Linked DNA regions of Homo sapiens: region 1 is linked to region 2. Evidence: promoter capture Hi-C in 16 types of primary human blood cells and fetal thymus (Javierre and others, 2016). All regions are on one chromosome and are shown on one strand. Each heading gives the region's core, a stretch centred on a gene start or on the middle of the fragment in contact. The rest is flanking DNA. Distances are from core to core; before and after follow the strand shown.

Evidence for each region. Contacts are between HindIII fragments. The CHiCAGO score rates a contact against its expected background, and 5 or more counts as called.
Region 1: a contact is called between a fragment that was not itself captured here and the fragment with the promoter of RPS4Y2 in region 2, in 3 of 17 cell types (neutrophils, total B cells and naive B cells). The highest score is 10.2, in neutrophils.

Annotation. Positions count from the first base shown.
Region 1 is chrY:21,266,446-21,271,561 of GRCh38, forward strand. All of the region lies in intron 2 of LOC107987347 (a long non-coding RNA gene), which reads right to left. Among named protein-coding and RNA genes, the nearest start is that of PRORY, 180 kb to the right of the region's middle. The HindIII fragment of the contact is 2,325 bases long and covers 621-2,945 here.
Region 2 is chrY:20,753,511-20,758,219 of GRCh38, forward strand. It overlaps RPS4Y2 (ribosomal protein S4 Y-linked 2), which reads left to right and starts at 2,598. Exons shown (of 7, transcript NM_001039567.3): 1 at 2,598-2,656; 2 at 3,268-3,345. The coding sequence starts at 2,654. The HindIII fragment of the contact is 1,374 bases long and covers 1,354-2,727 here.

The sequences.
Region 1 (5,116 bases), core at 533-3,032, 510 kb after region 2:
AGAACAATGAGGACTCTTTCATTTTTAACATCAGGGCTCGTGCCTGCACCTGCCTTTGAGGCCTGATTGCAGGATTTACTAGTCCAGCTATGGATAGCTTTACCACATTCTCTGAGACACAGTGTGGGATCCAGGCCACTGGTCATTCCACAGCTGAATTCACCCACTGAAATATCCATGCACTTTTCTCAGAGAACAGTTGATAGACAAAATCTTACTGTTGTAGTTTTGCCAGTGTAACAAGATGAAGCAGTTTCTCGTTTGTGATGACATCTGGAGTTTTTTGTTCTACCCTCAAGAAAATTAAGGAGTGCAGAACAGTATAGTGAGGTTGGAGCAAAAGTTAAATAAGTGAAATAAGAAAGTTCTCTGCCAGAAGAGAGGGATTCTTGAATGAGTTACTCCACATGAGGCTGAGGTTTAGGAATTTTATGAACTGGGAAGGGGAAGGAGGAATGTGCTTAGTCTGCAAGCTGTCCTGGATAGTGCTGACTTAGCTTGGCCTGGGACCAGTTAAAAACTTGGCCAAAGACCTTGGCCCAGGACAAATCAGAGGCTGAACTGATGATTTATAGACTCTGTTTAGCTTGGCCAGGGATCTATTTAGAAGCTGAAGTGAAAGCTTAACCCAGGACCTTGGACCAGAGCCAATCTTAATCCAGAACTTGGGCCAGGGGCTGAAGTGATGCTTTACAGAGTCTGGGCTCACACTTTGCACAAGAAAGCAAACTATCCATTGAAACCCACTGGAGCCCACTGTGTTTATGATCACAAAATGAGAAAAAACTTCCTGGGAACCTACAGATTATACAAAGGATAATGGCATTCTTATGTTAGGTCTTATTTCCTTATCTGAGTGAACAAGAGGTTTGTACAAATTTTTATCTGAATGGGCTGGGATTTACCGTATTTGTGCAGCCATGGGCATGTCTCCAGGTACAACAGCCTGTGATAGTTTCCTTATGATGCCTGCAGCTTGATTTTTTTTCCAGCCTGCTTTGTTTCTTGCATGGGGATGAGGAACTGACCCATGGGTTGGGGACTGTCCAGAGTCTCTTCCCTTGTTACCTACCTAAGGCAAACTAACAGTCTCCTTTCATTACCACCATATTAGCAGCTGGCTCTTGTCTTCAATCATTACTTATTGCACTTGAGGCCAGCCCACAAAGCCCACTGTAAAAATTGCTAACACAAGAGTACAGAATGTGGGAAAAAGGAGAGCTTCTCAAGTCACTGGTAGCACTCTTGCCTGGTCACTCCAACTAATAAAAGGGTTTTACCCAACTCATCCACCAGCCAAATTGATACTACAACTAGGATTTCACCACATGACAACATTCCACTGAACCACAAATAAAAAGATTGAGAATAAAAAAAATCAACTAGAAAAAAAATTAAGCATATAATGAAGATAAAACCTCACATATCAATATTAACCTTGAATGCATAATCGCTAAATATTTATAATCCAATTAATAGCTCTATTTGGTTGAGAGGCTGAGGTGGGTGGATCACGAGGTCAGGAGATCGAGACCATCCTGGCTAACATGGTGAAACCCGGTCTCTACTAAAAGTACAAAAAAAAAAAAATAGCTGGGTGTGGTGGCGGCCGCCTGTAGTCCCAGCTACACGGGACGTTGAGGCAGGAGAATGGTGTGAACCTGGGAGGCAGAGCTTGCAGTAAGCCGAGATCGTGGCACTGCACTCCAGCCTGGGCTGGAAAAAACAGTCTCAAAAATAAATAAATAAAATAAAAAATACTGTATTTGGTCAGGCACAGTAGCTCACACCTATACTTCTGGCATGTTAGGGAGGCCAAGGTGGATGGATCACTTTAGTCAAGGAGTTTTAGATGAGCCTGGACAACATGGTGAAAACCCATCTCTACAAATAAAATGCAAAAATTAGCAGGGCATCATGGCATGTTCTTGTAGTCCCAGCTAATAAATAGGCCGAGGTGGAAGGATGGCTTGAGCTCCTGAGACACAGGTTGTAATGACTAAATAAATATCACACAACAACACTCCTGATTGGGCAACAGTGCCAGACCCTTCTTCAAAAAAAAAATATATATACACACACACATACACACACACATATATATTTGAAAAAGTGAATAAAAAATGTTCACTGCCTACAAGAAATTCAGCTTCCCTCTAAAGACAAATATAAACTAAATGTATACAAACAGAGAAAGATAATCCAAAAAACCTATAAAACAAAAGTTAGCAGAAGTGGCCACACTTAAATGAGAGAAAATTCTTTGAACTTAAAAGTAATCCAAAAAACCTATAAAACAAAAGTAAGCAGAAGTGGCCATACTTACATGAGAGAAAATTCTTTGAACTTAAAAGAGTAAAAAATATTAAAATGTCCATATATAATGATAAGAAATTGATTCAGAAGGTGAATAAAACAACTAAGTACACATCAAACACTATTGCTTCTAGATTTATGAAACAGATATTACTAAATAAAGAGATAACAATGCAATACTATGGGAAAGTTTAGCACACCACTTAGAGGATTAGATAGACCAGTGAGACAGAAACCCAAAAAGAAAGCCTGAACTTGTTAAATTAAACATTTCACAAAAGAGACCTAACAGATGTATACAGAAATTATATCAAAAAACTTCTGCAAAATGTAAATTCTTATTAGTACATGCCATTTGATTAAGAGAGATTATATGTTAGGCCACAAAACAAGTCTTAATAAATTTTAATAATTCAAGATCATATTAATGTCTGCTTTGACCACAGTGTAATAAGCCAAAAATTAATACCAAGAACTTTGAAAACTGTACAAATACATGAAAAGTAAACAACATGCACTTGAATGATCACTGAATCAACAATGACAATAAAATGATTTTAGCTGAAATAAATTGAAAAGAAAACACAACATACCAGTCTCTGATAAACTCCAAATAGTATTAATAAAGAAGCTTACACTACTCAGTGCCTACATTAAGAAACAAAAACAATAAAAAATTAACAGCCTATTATTGCACCTCAAAAAACTAAAAATAAATAAATAAATAAAAACAAAAAAAACAAACTCAGTGTTAGCAGAATAAAAGACATAGCAAAGATCAGAGAAAAACTAATAATAGAAAGCAAAAACACAATACCAAAAATTAACAAAATGAAAAGTTGTTTATTTGAAAAGACAAATACAACTAATAAACCATCAACTAGAATAACAGAGAAAACAGAAGATAAAAGATGCAAGTAAACAAGTTGAAAATGAAAAAGAAAACATTACAACAAGTGTCACAGAAATAGAAAAGTGTATTAAGAGACTGCTATGGACATCTGTGAATTCAGAAACTAAAAAACCTAGAGAAAATGGTTAAGTTTCTGGAAACATGAAGCCTTCTAAAATTGTAACTAGAAAAAGGAGAAAACCAAAACATATCAAGAATGAGTAGCAAGGTTGAATAACTATTTTTTTTAAAACCCAAAGGGAAGTACAAAAACATACAAATTTACAGACAAATTTCAGTAGCCATACAAAGAACTAATGCCAATTTTTCAGAATCTATTTCAAAATTTGAAGAGAAGATACTTATTCTCAGCTCATTCTATGAAGTGAATATTATCATCATACTAATACCAGAAAAAGACACACTCATACACACAAGACATGCACAAATCCAAAACAACAAAACATATTCATTATGAGTGTGGCCACAAAGGTTCTTAACAAAATATCAGCAAACTGAACCCATTGGCACAATAAAAAGAATTATACATTATGAGCATGTGGTTGATATACCAGGGATGAAGGGACAGTGCATTACATTTAAATCAACAGAAGTAATAGAAATAATAGTTTTCTTTAAAAATTTGCCTATCTTTATAGATAAAAACATTTGATCAAAGGATTTCCTTATGAAAAAAAAAACCCTTATCAGACTAGGCTTATACAGAACATACCTCAAAATACCATCTATAATAAACAATCTATAATAAACCAATAGCCAGCATCATATTGACTGAGGAAGAATTGAAACTTTATCTGTAATTACTGGTAACAGACAAGAATGCTGATTTTTACCTCTCCTAAAAAACACATTATTGGAAGCCCTAAGCCATCAGGCAATAGCTACAAATAAAAAGCATTCAAATTGTAAATTACGAAGTGAAATAATTTCTCTTCACTGATAATATGATCGTATATCTGGAATATCTAATAAATGAATTCAGTCAATCTTCAGAAGGCAACATTCAAAAATCAGTTTATAAAAATCAGTTGTGTTTCTACATACCAACAACAATCTAGTTGAGAATAAAATTAAGAATGGATTCTATTTGCAATAGAAACAAAAAATACTTAACTAAAGCAATGAAAGATGACTACAATGAAAACTACAAAACACTAATGAAATAAATATTAAATCACACAAAAATGAAAACACATGCCATTCTCATTGATAATAAGAATTAATATTATTAAATGAGCATAGTGCTCAGAGCAATCTACAGGTTAAATTCAACTGTTAAAAAAATATTGATTTTATTTATCACCAAAAGATAAAAATTAATTCAAACATATATGGAAGAAACCAAAAAGAGCATGAATAACAAAATGATTCCAAGCAAAAAGAACAAAGTTGAAGACATTACCTGATTTTAAATTTTATTAGCAAGTATAATAAAAATAGTATGGTTTTTATATAGAATTAGACACATAATTTAACAGAACAGAATACAGAAGCCAGAAATACAGCCACATATTTCCAGCTATTGATATATATAGTCCACTAATCTTCAATCAATTGGACAAAAACACACACTGAGAAAAATGATATTCTTCTAAATAAATGGTACAGAAATAATTTGATTGCATTATTCAGTGGAAGGACACATGAGATCCCTTTCTTTCGCCATAAAGGAAAATCAAATCCAGATCAACTAAAGACTAAAATGTGGACACGAACTTACAAATGTACTTGAAAAAAAAGAAAAAACACTCTGAGCATTGTTGTAGGCAAATATTACAAGATTAAAATCTAAAAAGCATAGGAAACAAAAATAAGTAAGAGCAACTTAAACCAAAAATACTCTGCACATCAAAAGAAATCATCTAGAAACTGAACCCACAATTTACA
Region 2 (4,709 bases), core at 1,348-3,847:
TCTTATTATTACTCAAATGGGTCTCCCCTAGCACTTGTGGATTGGAGTTTAACAAGGATAATTTTGCAGGTAACGGCTCTCCTCATGCCTACATATGTATTTGACTAACAGTCTTCTGAAAATGATTCAATCAGAAAAGCCCGTTTTAGTCAGAGAGCACTATTCAGCACTGTTATATCTGGAGGAGCGAATGCTTTTTTGGGGGAGAATAATAAAAAAGGAAAATGATGGGGAAAAGAATGGAAAAGTGAGTTGTCTGCCGCAGAGAGTGGAAGAAACCAGTCCAGTTAAGGTTAAGGGCTCTCCGAGAGCTGTCCAGGACTAGAACTGAAATTGATAGTGCTCTGATGAGGGTAAGAACACCAGAGCTCTTGTCTCACATTGAATTAGATAAAACAACAGGACACAGGTGGAGTTGTTTTAAGGAGCAGAGAGTTTAATAGGCAAGAAACAAGGAAGAACAAAGAAGGAAGAAGCTCCCCTGTACAGACACAGAGGGAGGGAGGACTCGAAAGCCAAGAGATGGAACCCAAGTGGGGAGGAAACAAGCCAGGTATACGTAGAGGCTGGAGGAGGCGGTGTCTGATTTGCACAGGGCACAGTGGATTGGTTTGACAAGGCATGTCATTCACTTAGCCCACGAAAAAGCGGGCCCAACTACTCTAGTCTTTTAATATGCAAACGAAGGACGCCATGATGTTCTACACACGTGGGGATATGTGGGGGTGGCCATGTTGCCAGGAACATGTAGGGCAAGGGCAGGAGGGCACAGGAATTGCCATGTTTGGGTGGACCCAGTTTCTAATGGCCTACATTTGCATATCAAAGTTTGCCAGCCAAGCCCTAAGAGCCAAAGCTCTAAGAGCCCAGGCTTTGCTTCTAGACAAGAAACATTTCTAGAGCAGCTTTAATAGAAATGAAAACTTTTCCTCTCTATTTGCCTAAAATAATTTCTTAATAACTCCTACCACAAAAGCAGCAAAGGGACCTAAGTAATGGCAAAAGGAGTCTAGGAGTCTCAGAATAGAAGAGGTGAATACTAGTACAGAGCAAACAGTGTGGAGTTCAGATCTATTCCAGCCTGCTGTCTTGCTAGCTGGCACATACAGTGCCTATAGACTTGAATCAAGGAATTGAATGCAAAGACAAACAAAACATAACAACAAAAACATTTTAGGCACTGTTACGCGCTTACAAATTGGTAAAAATGGTCGATGTTACTGTGTTGTGTTCTCTCTACAGTTAAAGGAAAAAGAAAAGAAAAGCTGGAGGCCAGGCTTGGTGGCTCATGCCTGTAATCCCAGCACTTTGGGAGGCAGAGTCGGTGGTTCATGAAGTCAGGAGTCTGACACAAGCTTGGCCAACACAGTGAAACCCTGTCTATACTAAAAGTACAAAAAAACAGCCAGGCCTGGTGGCGGGCGCCTGTAATCCCAGCGACTCAGGAGGCTGAGGCAGGAGAATGGCTTTAAGCCAGGAGGTGTAGGTTGCAGTGAGCCGAGATCGCGCCATTGCATTCCAGCCCCGGCGACAGTGCCAGACTCCGTCTCAATAAATAAATAAATAAATAAATAAAAATAAAAATTCCGTAAAGTGCTGGCAGGTGCCTGTGGGTCTCAGCACTGTGGGAGGCTGAGGTGGGAGGAACACTCAACCCCCGGAAAGTCGAGGCTGCCGGGACCTGAGATGGCGCCCCTGCCCTCCACCCGGTGCGACAGAGCCAGACCCTGCCACATTCAAAAACACAATAAAAGAAAGAAAGAAAAGGAAAAGAAAAAGAAAAAGAAAAGAAATACCTAGAAAATAACACAAGGAAATTTTTGATGGTGATGGAGATGTTTATTACCTCGATTGTGATGATGGTTCCGTGGGTTTACGCCTATGTCCGAACTCGTCAAACGGTACAGATTAAGGAAGTCCATTTGGCTGGTTGTGTTTTGTATAGCAATTCCACCTCAATAAAGCTGTGACATCACACACATGCGAGCGTGGTACAACTTACATAGCCGAGTTCACCTTTTTAAAAGTGAATTGTTTTGGAGGTTTTAGGGACATGCACAGAGTTGTGCAACCATCACCTCAAGTTAATGCAAAACAAGGTATTGAACTTACAATTCACGTCCCATAAAACCTACCCTTTCAAAGTTGACAATACAGACGATTTTAATACATTCTCAAACCTGTGAAATTGGCCCTAATTCAGAAAAACGAATTGTTTCTTAAATCATGATTTTACAATACAACATGTCACAGTCACAAGGAATCATACAGGTTATTTCTTAACGATTGGCTTTTTTTTTTTTAAGGCGGCTAAATCCTGCTCCTTCAGAGCTTCTGTTAAATATTTTTAAAGTTGGCGAAAGATAATTTTTAGAGTGTAAACTGCGTCCTCCCAGCTTAGCCGACCTGAGGGGAGGAAGCACAACAAAAAGTCCCGTGGCATAACTGACACCTATGAATCAGTATCAGAAACTGAATATGCTAAGAAACTCAGTTCCGAGCTGTGACCTCTACAACGGAAGAATAATAGGTTGGTTACCCGAGGCGGAATCTGGAACTGAAATTCTCACTCATTTGACTTCCCGCTGTTTATCACCGCAGATTACGGTTGCACCGTAAAAGGAGAGGTTCTGTTCCGTCGCGGGATTTCGCCATGGTAAGACGTCTGCGTCCTAGCTCCGGATTTATCTGCCTCCATCCTTTGAAGAAGGGCCTTCCATCTTGGCAAGCTTTTACTTTTCGGGTACCGCTGCTTGGCGGGTGGGAATGCTGCTGGTGCTGCTTCAGGAAACCCGATTTGGAGAGCGGAGGTCTGAGAAGAGTGCGGCTGGGGGTTCCGGGCTGGCCCTTGTGCTCGGCCTGGGCGCCGGTGGTGCTGTTGGCACGTGAGTCTTGTTAGGAATAAGCTTCCTCGGCTAACCTTACAAGTCCACCCTTGACTCCGCAGCCCAGCACTGGCTTTTTACGCGGGTTAGCTTATATCCATACGTTGAAGCAGTCTCAGATTCGCTTGGAGAGCACTGTGGACGCTGTCTTGACAGACGCCAGAGAGACTCGTGAGGTTGTCAAAGGTCTGGGAGTTTTGCGGGGTTTGTTCTGGAGTCTGGCAGGAAGTAATATTTGCTCAAAACTGGGCGTGAAATAGCCTGGACTGTCCTTTCTCCTCCGATCCGGTATTACCCGTTAGCAGTTGTTACAGCTGAAGATAAAGACATTTTACTGTTAACTGAGACGAGTTTCTCTGAAAAAGTTTGGTGTCTTTTTCAGGCCCGGGGCCCCAAGAAGCACTTGAAGCGTGTTGCAGCGCCGAAGCATTGGATGCTGGATAAACTAACTGGTGTATTTGTGAGTATAACTGTATTTGCTTTTTACTCAAAAGTGCATGCTGTGTACCTGTGGCTTGCTATTTCGTGGGAACACTGTTTGCTTATTTATGTGAGATTTTCGTTGGTGAAGACTTGCTGCACACGGAACTTGTCCTTGCACTGTAATGAAAAGGTCCCTGAGAAAAAAGTTAGGACATCCTGTTTGGAAACAGCGGGTCGAACAGCTCTCTGACCTCAACTTTGAGCACTATTGTGGTCCATAATGTCGCTGAGAACCTGGGCTTGCCATCTTTTAGTAACTATTGAGAGCCTAATACATGCCAGGTGTTGTTATGTGGGCCCACCCTTAAGGATATGTCCGGGTACAAAATGGTTGGACAACAAAATCTATCCCTCTTTCTTGTTGAAGCTTACATCCTGCTGGGAGGAGAGGGAAGTTACAGTATGTTCACAGGTGCTGAAGGCTGGGGGGAGAAAAAAGTAGGGCTGTTGGAAGGATCAATGGGGTTTTGAGCACTGCAGTTTTAAAGAGTGTGAAATAAAGAAGCCTCTTACAGAAGAACAGAAAGACATAAGTGAGTGAACTATTGGACATGTTTGGGGTTTTTTTTTTTTTTTTTTTTGAAACTGAGTCTTGGCTTGTCACCAGGCTGGAGTGCTGTGGCATGATCTTAGCTCACTGCAACCTCTGCCTCCGGGTTCAAGCGATTCTCATGCCTCAGCCTCCCCAGTAGCTGGGATCTTTTAGTCACCACGCCGATCTAAATTTTGTATTTTTAGTAGATACCAAGTTTCACCCTGTTGGCCAAGATGTTCTCAATTTCCTGACCTTCTGATCCACCCGCTGGTGGCCACTCCCACAGTGCTGGGATTATAAGCATTAGCCATGGCGCCCCTCATATTTTCAAAAGAGCTGTTAGGCTGCTGTGTTGTGATTTATTCAAATTGTGTTATATCATGAACCCATTTCTTGAGGCTTGTGCTCTCAAGGATTAAAAATGCCAACAGCAACAACAAAACACCAGGATGTCAAGTCCTGGTGGTCTCTTTTGCTGTTTGAGCTCTCCACTTTAGAGGGCACTTCCTGAACCCAGACCTGAGGGGATTAATGAATGTGCTAAATTCCAGATAAGAAAGGGTTCAGTGACAGTGCACTGAGTCCCCATTAATAATAAAATGTATTTAATTTGAAGTTACCCTTTGTTTCAGAGGGTGGAGTAGCTGCTGTTTACATTGAGCCCAAGATACGGTTTTAACAGTAACGGCTACTGGGGTCCATGCAACACAGGCAAGAAATTGCGTGAGAAATGCAGGAGTCTCTTGAACTCAACCTTGAAGACCTGGCAGGATGAGGACAGTATGCCCAGAGGCAAAGGAGGCAAG